Regions from separate parts of the Homo sapiens genome. Here region 1 is linked to region 2. Evidence: promoter capture Hi-C in 16 types of primary human blood cells and fetal thymus (Javierre and others, 2016). All regions are on one chromosome and are shown on one strand. The core of a region is centred on a gene start or on the middle of the fragment in contact, and the rest is flanking DNA. Distances in the headings are between cores, read along the strand shown.

Region 1 (5,277 bases), core at 1,543-4,042, 6.7 Mb before region 2:
ATCTGCTTATATAATAAAATAAAATGACTAGTACTTCTGGCCGCAGGTTTTGCAACATTCAGCTCCACCTCAAATCTAGTCAATCAAAATCTCTAGGGGTTGGGCTGCTGAATATTTTTTTTTTTAAACAAACACTCCAGTGATTCACAAGAATCTAAAGAAACTCAAATTTGAGTCTCCCACAGGAAGAGGTCTTCCTTCTGTTTTTCTCTAGAGCTATTGAGAATCTAATCCCCTTCCTTCCCCAATCCTTCCCCAAATCCTCTACAACTTTGCTCCTTACCTCCCCTTCTCTTGTATTTAACCTTTCAACCTCAAGTCTCTCCTATCTTAAAATACAAACACACACTCACATTTATTCTTCAATAAAATAACCCATGCATGGTTCTACTTGTAACTTCCCAATAACTCTTTTTGTAAAACCACCAATACTATGTGTGATATTGTTTAAATTTTTTTTTAAAAAAGAAAGTAGGAGGACCCTACAATATAAAAAGCCCCATTTCACCAACACCAACTCTTTCAGTGTAATCAATATAAGCATATAATTCTACTCTCCTCCCCAGAAGTAACGGTTAAGTGTGTAGTCTTGGGACTTTTTTTATTTACACATATATAAAAATCCACAGTTTTTTAACAACATAAATGAAAATACACCTTAGTTCTCCCCCTCACTGACATCTGAATCAAACACTGTGTCAAAGCACTAATGTCTTCCTACCATTTCAACCAATAGTCCCTGACCTCTACTGCACATGACACTGGTAACCACTCCCTCTCTGGGATCTGCCTTCTCTGCAGATTCCATGACACTGTACTGCCCAGGTCTCTCTTGCTCTTTTGATTATTCCTTGTTAGCCTACTATGCTGATAACTTTCCCCATGTGCCCCATGAACACTAGTATTTCCCACCATTACATCCAAGCTTTCATCTGTCAATTCATTCAATGAACAATCACCACCTACTTCATTCCAGGAGGACAACTTTGTCAGATCCCCATTTGTCAATGGTTTTGCATGTGAACCAATGCTCCAAATCACTTGCATCAAAGAAACAAATGCTGCCTTGCCGCGGTGGCTCACACCTGTAATCCCAGCACTTAAGGAGGCCGAGGTGAGTGGACCACCTGAGGTCAGGAGTTCGAGACCCAGTCAGACCAACATGGCAAAACTCCATCTCTACTAAAAATACAAAAATCAGCTGGGCGTGGGGGCAGACGCCTGTAATCCCAGCTACTGGGGAGGCTGAGGCAGGAGAATCGCTTGAACCTAAGAGGTGGAGGTTGCAGTGAACCCAGATGGCGCCACTGCACTCCAGCCTGGGTGACAAGAGCAAAACTCCATCTCAAAAAAAAGAAACAAATGCTTGCAATTTTAGCATGATACATAATTTCACTTTGCAACTAATTTGAACTATATTATGATCAGCAAGCCCCTACGCCAATCAGGAGGATGGGAATTAGAAGTAAGCTTGAGTAGTTAATTTTTTAAGGTGATAACTTATTAATAATTATTTTCATATCATGAGAATTTTTCTTCCCTACATAACCTTGTAATTTCAAAAGCTCAGAAAATGAACTCTCAGGTAATAGGGACTCCATTTTATGTTATTAGCTCCCAAGTCTCTATCCCAGATTACTCTCTCCTGAGCCAGAAATAAACTTTCAACTACATACCAGACATTCCCCCATGCCCACTCTGGCGGTGCCTACTCATCATTCTAATTTCAGCTGAAACATCACCTAGTGCCTCCCCTCAAGGATCCATCCACTTAACTATTAAATAAATCTGACACTCAATGGTGTACCCTGGCATCTAAGACAAAGGCAAAGACCTTCCTAACTAAAAAGATAATTTAAAATGCAAGTGGGGCTGAGAGCTGTGGCTTGTGCTTGTAATCTGGCACTTTGGGAGGCTGAAGTGGGAGGATGGCTTAAGCCCAGGAGTTTGAGACCAGCCTGAGCAACACAGTGAGAGCCCATCTCTACAAAAATTTAAAAATTAGCCAGGCATGGTGGCATGTGCCTGTGTTCCCAGCTACTTGGAAGACTTAGGTGGGAGGATTGCTTAGGCCCAGGAGACTGAAGCTGTAGTGAGTGAGCCGTGATAGTGCCACTGCACTCCTGCCTGGGCAACAGAGATCATGTCTCAATAGATAGATAAATAATATAAGTAAAATAAAATAAAATGGAAGTGGTGGGTATATACATAAGAGTGAAAAATAAAAAATAAAATGTAAGTGGGACTGGGACTGAAGAGAAGGGAAACAGAATGAGGGAAGAGAGGAGGGGACCAGCATAAAATGCAACAGGGAGTGGTAGGATTTGTTAAACTCTCAAAAGAATGGATAAAAAGGAGTTGGCCAGGTGACAAAAATTTTTGACATAACTTTTTTTGATAGGGAAGAACAAGAAGGAGTGCTTCAGATATTAGCAGAAATAAGAACACAACCAAACCTGTGCCTTTGTTTACCTTGCTGAGCGTTGAGCAGCAGGGAGGGTTAGTGATAAGGTTAAAATGGTTGGCAGATGCTAGAATTTCAGAAGAAAAATTACTATAGATTCGTATTTTTTCTCTCCATGCTTGATAATTAACTGCTTATTAAAAACCACTTTCCACTTTACATCTAGATTTAAATGACACATTTTACTAAATGATTCAGAAACAAGACAGGAACAAGGAAAAAATTTAAAGCTACATTTTAACTGCATTTAGTCTTACAGTAAGAAAACAGCTCAATAGTATCATCATGATCATGTAAAAGTTTTTAAAACCTCTTCTATTAAAGAGGGAATTCTGAAAAGGAAAAATGTGCATTGTTCCTTTCCTTTGAGAAATCAAAGTACTTTCACATTTATCCTCATTTTATCCCACATACTGAGAGAAGGTTATAGGTTACGGAAACAGGGAAACAGAAAAATTAGGTGATTTCCTTCATTCTAAGATGCATGTTTTTGACCCTGACTTTTTAAAAAATCAAAGTGGATCTCACATTACTGATTTTAAAGTCATCTTTTCTAGGGGAGGGCCACACTGAGTGTATCTTACAACTATGGGTACACTCTGCATTAAAGAAATATGGTAAAGGATTTTGCCCAAATTAGTAAGCAAGAAGGTGGCAGAACTGGGCAACAACAACAACAACAACGACACCACTTCTGTTAAGTTATTAATATATACAAACAGGAATATAGTAGCCTGTTTGGCTCCTCTCTTATTAGTTAAATATACAGGGCCTACCTTCTACTACGCTCTTCCTGAAAGAAATACAGAGCCATACAAAACATCTTTTCTGACTTCAAGAAGTATATAATAGGTACCTACATAATAGAGGTGCCTATACAAGTATCTATACAACAGAAAAGTCTGGGATCAATATCAGAAGAATGACACAAAGTGAGAAACATAAATTCAGAAACGGAGTAGTCACTTTCAGCCAGGATACTGTGAAAATCTTCACACAATAAGAGCTTAATATATGTTGACTGTGAAGGCATTACGGAAAACTCAGATAAGACTTTGAAGGACTGATGGATCTTCCACAGGGAGAGATTGTGCCGGAAAGCACTCTAAGAATAGAGACTAGCAGTGCCCAGGAAAAAAACACCAAAATCAGTCACTGGGACTCAATGGCAGAAGCAAGGTGGGGAATAGCGGGAAAGAAGGCGAGAAATGTAGATAGGGGCTAAAATATAGAGTTCACTGAAGGTCAAACTAAAAATTGTGAGCAAACAGGAGTAGCCTTTTGACATTCATGCTTCAGGATGACTAAACTGACAGTAAACTACACTGGCTGAACTGGAGTAGGGAGAAGTACTGCTGCAGACTATAACAGTGTCAAGAATTCTGTTCCTGAACTAGGTCGTATCAGCAGCAATGACAAGAAAGAAGTGTCTTCCCTTTGAATTGCGTGGGGACTGCTTTTGGATAAGAGCAAATTCCAAGAGAACAGAGCATTAACTTGTTAGGATTTGTAGCCCCACTACTCCATGCACAATACTTTATTTATCCACAGTACAGCCTCAAATAAAAAACTGAAAAAAGGCAACCAGCAAAGTCTGATTTGAATTTTCACCACTAATGAGATAGCCAAATGCCACAGTCACAAGCTTCTATTTCTCAAACCCACTCATATTACAGTTAATGTGGCATTCCTCTCCAATCTTGTTTTTACAGCCTAAATGAAATTTTGCCAGAAGACTTTAGAATTCTCCTTCTTCCAAATACACCACAGCATTTTTCTTTTAAAGTTTACAAATCCAATTTCCACACACACACACACGCACGCACGCATCAGAAAACCTTGCTGAAAACTCATGTATCTAGCAGAAATTTTTTCTTTCAGGCAGCAATAAATATGCTTTTTTTTTTTTTTTTTTTTTTTTTTTGCAAACTCCACCTTCCGGGCTCAAGTGATCCTCCCGCCTCAGCCTCCCAAGTGGCTGGGATTACAGGCGCCTGCCACGACGCCCGGCTAACTTTTGTACTTTTAGTAGAGACGGGGTTTCACCACGTTGGCCAAGCAGGTCTCGAACTCCTGATCTCAGGTGATCCCCCACCTCGGCCTCCGAAAGTGCTGGGATTACAGGTGTGAGCCACCGCGTCCGGCCAACATGCTTCTTTAGTTACTTATAGAACCTGCCACATCATTAGTTCAACTACAAACTGCTGCTTACATGACCGAAGTTGTGCAAAGGGTCCAAAGTTGTGCAAGAGTAACCACTGAAATCAGACTCTGGTATATTAATAGTTGCAACATCTAAACAATCTTTATGTTTATTATTAGATTCAAAGTAATGCCAAATCACAGGTATTAAAAATATCTACGAAGAGTCTGTTTACTTTTCTGTGAAATATACTAGGACGTCATTTTAAGTGAGAATAACTGAATTTCTTTCAGCTCATGGACATGAGCTCACCTGAAAATTAGCAGTTGTGACACCGGACTTGACATATCTAAAACATCAGCGTCCTCAACATACACATACCTAAGTACACACCCAGAGCACTGAACGACTTTACATTACTATATAACCCCAGTTCACACGTGGCAAAAGTCCACAGAACTCGTTCATGCTTTCCTAACCCCGAAAGGGATTCTCCAGCCGTCAAGTAATGAGATGTGACTTATTCTGACGTGAGAGTTGAAGGTGTTAAAAAAGCATATTTTATATATATGTATATATATAAAATACATATTTTAAAGGTTTCCTTTTCTCTTTCTCGGCTGCCTGTCCCACGCCAAAAAGCGCCTTGCCCAGGCCTTGATAGATGCGT
Region 2 (5,210 bases), core at 1,514-4,013:
TCTTCACTTGGGGGTGGTAAGTTTTCATGACAAATATTTTAGAATAGGATTTTCTTTGACTAGAACTCTTCTACTTCTGTGGGCAAATATAAGTTCAATTCATACTTGGAAAGAAAAGATTGGAAATGATGGTGTTTATAGCATTCCATATATTTCAGACAGAAGAAATTCCTTTGAAACGTCATATATTTTCTACCTTCTGATGATTCCTAAGTGGTAGATTCCTAGTTTACATCTCCAAACATGTAATCCTATTCTAGTGAAGAATTGAACATTAACTTAATAAATACATTATTAATATTATTTTCTCCTGTCCATATAGATTCATCTAACTTCCCCTTATGTCATTTCTAAATAACAAATCTGAAGCTCAATTTCAAAGAAATTACAAAGTAGCTCAAAGGTTATCTTTCTTATGTCATAATACAGCAGTCCCCAACCCTTTTGGTACCAGGGGCCAGTTTCGAGGAAGACAATTCTTCCACAGACAGGGTGGGAGGTGATGGGGCTGGTTTCAGGATGACACTGTTCCACCTCAGCTCATCAGGCATTAGATTCTCATACAGAGTGTGCAACCTAGATCCCTTGCAATGTGCAGTTCACGATAGGGTTCATGCTTCTGTGAAAATCTACTACCGCTGCTGATCTGACAGGAGGCAGAGTTTAGGCGGTAATGGGGCTTGCCCGCCGCTCACCTCCTGCTGTGCAGCCGGGTTCCTAACAGGCCATGGACCACACCAGTCTGTGGCCCAGGGTATGGGGACCCCAGGTATGTTATATAATTAGGTAACTGAGATCACCGCTATGGTCTGTGTCTCCCCAAAATTCCTGTGTTGAAATCCTAACTCCCAAGGTGATGATATTAGGAGGTGGGACCTTTGGGAAATGATCAGGTCATGAGGGTGGAGCTCTCATGAATGAAATTAATGTCCTTATGAAAGAGACCCCAGAGAGCTCTCTCACCTCTCCACCATGTGAAGCTACAATGAGAAGACAGCAGTTTGCAACCTGGGACAATCCTTCCCAGAACCTCACCATGATAGCACCCCAATTCTGAACTTTCAACCTCCAGAACTGTGAGAAAATGACTTTCTGTTGTTTATAAGCCACCCAGTCTACAGCACTGTTACAGGAGCCTGAATGGACCAAGAAAAATCTCCGATAGAAGTGTTACAGAAATAATGTTAAGAGAGATAATGCCGGGAGTACCTGCCTCTTCTCTTCTCCCTACTCCAGGCAAATTGTCTGGTAATGTTGTGATGCTCGGAGAACGCCAGCCCAGGTGCCTGTGAAGCAGTCCCCTCTGCTCACTGCACTGTTCCTGATTTTGTTCCATAACTTTGTGCCTCTAGGAAAAGAGGAGAGCCTCCCGAAATCTGATGAGACTCGCTGTATCACGCCAGTCTGTGGCTTAGGTGATACAGAAAGGAAATGCGAAGATCAGGCCTCACTGCCAGCTTTGCTCAGTTACACAGAAAACATGCTGTTTCAGCTTTTGGGAGTTTCTTAGTACACGATCGGTTTCTTTTTCTCTTTTATGAAAGTTTTTCCCCTTAGATTTGCTTTCAAAACAACAGACTTTCACTTCTGGCTAAGACAGAATGAGTGACCTAGTACAATCTTTGACACTGTTATTATATATCTTTATTCATAATCAATGCATGATTTTGATTATTCTGACTTTAATTTTACGAGTAAAAATGGGTTGGTTATAAATCCCTTTCAAAGAATTTTTTTTTTTTCTTTTTGAGACGGAGTTTTGCTTTTTCTGCCCAGGCTGGAGTACAATGGTGCGGTCTTGGCTCACTGCAACCTCTGCCTCCTGGGTTCAAGTGATTTTCCTACCTCAGCCTCCCAAGCAGCTGGGATTACAGGCATGCGCCACCACACCCAGCTAATTTTTTGTATTTTTAGTAGAGATGGGGTTTCACCATGTTGGTCAGCTGGTCTCGAACTCCAGACCTCAGGTGATCCACTGGCCTCGGCCTCCCAAAGTGCTGGGATTACAGGAGTGAGCCACCGCGCCCGGCCCCTTTCATTGCTTTTTAAGGAAAACATGCTATCATATATACTTCACCTCCAGGGCAGTACATTCTTACTTTAAGGCAAAGACAGTTGCTGAGGCCTGGACTAGGGGAAAATTTGGGCTCCAGATGGGACTGTTGGATAAAATACCAGACGTCCTGTAAATGTGAATTTTAGATAAACAACGAATAACTTTTTAGTATAAAAGTAAATACTGCAATGGAATTTATTATTTGCTAAATGTGCAACCCTAGGTTAAGAGAGCTTTTCAGACCCACTTCTCAGCCCGAGTTTTCTATTTAAAATCAGAATAAGAACGCCTGCTTCATGGAGCTGTTAAATCCAAATGGAAATTAATTTGAAAGCGCGAAATCAAACTTTTCAAAAGAATGACGGTTACAATAAGAGCGTTTTGGCCTCTGCTAGCTGCTTCCGGGCGGAGGTCCTCGGCCTCCCCTAGGCGAGGCACTAGGTCTGGGGGCGGCGGGTCTTAGCGTGCCCGCCACGCTCGCCGCCTCCCACCTGCCCTGGCTGGCTGGGGCCCGACCCTTGCGTCGCTCCGGGGCCCAAGTTACGGACTCGGGAATCCAGTTGTCCGCACCGAACAAGCCCCGCCGCAGCGCCCGCCCCTCCTCTTGCTGCTTTGGAGTCTCCCGGCTTCCGCCTTCCGCAGCAGTCACGTGCCTCCGATCACGTGACCGGCGCCTCTGTCATTCTACTGCGGCCGCCCTGGCTTCCTTCTACCTGTGCGGCCCTCAACGTCTCCTTGGTGCGGGACCCGCTTCACTTTCGGCTCCCGGAGTCTCCCTCCACTGCTCAGACCTCTGGACCTGACAGGAGACGCCTACTTGGCTCTGACGCGGCGCCCCAGCCCGGCTGTGTCCCCGGCGCCCCGGACCACCCTCCCTGCCGGCTTTGGGTGCGTTGTGGGGTCCCGAGGATTCGCGAGGTAAGGCCGCCCTCGCGTTGTTTGGTCTCAGGCTGCAGACCAGGTCAGGCGACTCTTGCAGTTTCTCCAGCTTGCCTGGTGCGTGCTGGTGTCTCGCCGCTTGGTCCTCTCCTGTTCTTCGGCCCCCGGTTGCCAGATTGCTTTTCTTCCAGGCCTCAACCAGGTTTATTAAGCGAAATTCTGGAGCCTTTCTCGCAGGGGGAAGAAACGTCAGGGGCGGGCAGGAGAGTGGAGGGGGAGGGGTAAAAAGTATACCTTCTCCAGGACTGGGCCACGGCCCTGGATCGCTGGGGGTGCGAGTAGTTCAGGGACTTAGGTAATTGTCTAGAGACACCTTGAGCTACGCCAGGACGGGCCGCTGAGGCTGAGCCTCCTTGGCTGCAGAGTTCCAGCCTGGCCCAGTTGAAGCCTGTTTTTTCCTGGGCCCTGTCGTTCGCGCTGCCCAGGGTTGTTTATACAGCAAATCTTCAGATACAGAGATTAAGTTCCAAATTGATTAAGATCGTTGGAAACCCGGAATATAATTTTGGGTAGGATTTTAACTTCTTTGTGGCCATGGCCGTGAATTTATGTTTTGCAAGTGGCAACCTGTATTTTGCTTTGTGTTAAAATCAGTCGTTTGTATCTGGAAGTTTAGGAGTGAGAATTACATAGAATTTCATTATTGTAGGTTCTTGTCGTCCAGCCAGACCGCCATTGTTGGCTTACCTAAATTGTAATATGTATTTGTTCTAAAACTTTCTCTCCGAATTTTGATTTTGCAAATACTATGAATTTTGTTTGAAAAGGAAAGCACTGTCTTCTAAGAAATTATGTTCCCACTTTGTGTATTTTAATTTGAGTAATTTTCGAAAGGACTTAGAATTTTTAATGTGCCACTTCAAAATGATGCTTAGTAAATGTTTATAAAACTAGCCTTATCCGTACTATTCATATTCTTATTGTTTCTCTATGAGAAAAGTTAACCACAATTGTATAAATTTACAATTTTTCCCATATTTATACCTATTCTATTTAATCATGATTTCTGATTTCAGTATATTAGGTGATTGCTTTAAAAATCTTACTGCAGTGTTAGTGCCAATAATGAAAAAAATTTTTCTAGAAAAGCAAAAGCCTAAAGAACTCTTTTATGGAGCAGTGGACAATATTTGAAATATAATGATACTTTCAGACTTAGGACATTTAATATTTGAGTTGAATGCCTGGGGAGATTAAAGTGATCACGATATTCATAATCATAATATTAATAGTTGTAAAAAAAAGAAACACCTCGTATTCTGTTTTTACCTTGCATCAAAATTGAAGATTTGTTGAAAGACATTCAAGATTACGAAGTTTAGATGACCAAAATGGATATCCGAGGTGCTGTGGATGCTGCTGTCCCCACCAATATTATTGCTGCCAAGGCTGCAGAAGTTCGTGCAAACAAAGTCAACTGGCAATCCTATCTTCAGTAAGTACCAATTTGCTGTGAATCATGGACAGTCATATGCTTTTGCATCAGACTTTTTCATGGTCATGCTTCTATGAGAGAAATACAGGGAAAATACTGAAAAATGTGGAAGAAACACTTCCTCTTCAGAATAATTAGCTGTCTTAGGGAGTTAAGTGTAGTGGGGTGGAAACAGCTTGGCGCCCTAGTGGGGAAGCAGAGCGGCTTATGGTGCTTTTGACCTTCTCTGGCTGCCTGGGGAAGTACTTTTGGAATAAGTGGGAAACATAGGAGGAATGTCCTTGGGCTAACGGAGGGAGGAAGGGGATGAGGGGCAAAACCTGCTAGACTGGTCTGATATGCCCTGGCAATCAGCATGGGGGCAGGTGGCCTTTTTAGAGTGGTGCATACAACTAATAAGAAGCACAGATATTTGAGTTGAGAGACTTGGATTTGAGTTTTGGTTCTTGCTATTAGTTTGGTGATCTTAAGCAAATCACTTAACTTCTCTGAGGCTCAATAAAGTAAAATGTGAAATGGGGAGACATACCCCACAGGCTTGTTGCTGAAATAATGTATTTATTAGCACAGTAGAATACAAGCATTAGTATGTTGAATACAATACATTTTAGTTCCCCCTTCTTTCTTGTATGTATTAATATTTAATGTGCTGATGTTTCAGTATTTTGTATTTATCTATAAAGTGAGCATTCATGTATTCTTGACCATATTTTATTGACTTCATATTTATTTTGGTATATTTATAACTGAGTTACCAAGGAATTCAGTTCAGATTTGCAT

What was found. The method cuts DNA at HindIII sites, captures the fragments that hold promoters and counts their contacts. A CHiCAGO score of 5 or more calls a contact.
Region 1: a contact is called between a fragment that was not itself captured here and the fragment with the promoter of ATP6V1H in region 2, in 1 of 17 cell types (total CD4 T cells). The highest score is 5.3, in total CD4 T cells.

Annotation. Positions count from the first base shown.
Region 1 is chr8:60,517,708-60,522,984 of GRCh38, reverse strand. The region is part of intron 1 of RAB2A (RAB2A, member RAS oncogene family); the gene reads right to left. Among named protein-coding and RNA genes, the nearest start is that of RAB2A, 3.4 kb to the right of the region's middle. RefSeq lists an enhancer at 4,565-4,754. The HindIII fragment of the contact is 2,639 bases long and covers 1,473-4,111 here.
Region 2 is chr8:53,840,798-53,846,007 of GRCh38, reverse strand. ATP6V1H (ATPase H+ transporting V1 subunit H) reads left to right here and starts at 2,763. Exons shown (of 14, transcript NM_015941.4): 1 at 2,763-2,974; 2 at 4,283-4,430. The coding sequence starts at 4,318. RefSeq lists enhancers at 1,328-1,377, 2,675-2,814 and a silencer at 2,455-2,604. The HindIII fragment of the contact is 7,596 bases long and covers 1-5,210 here.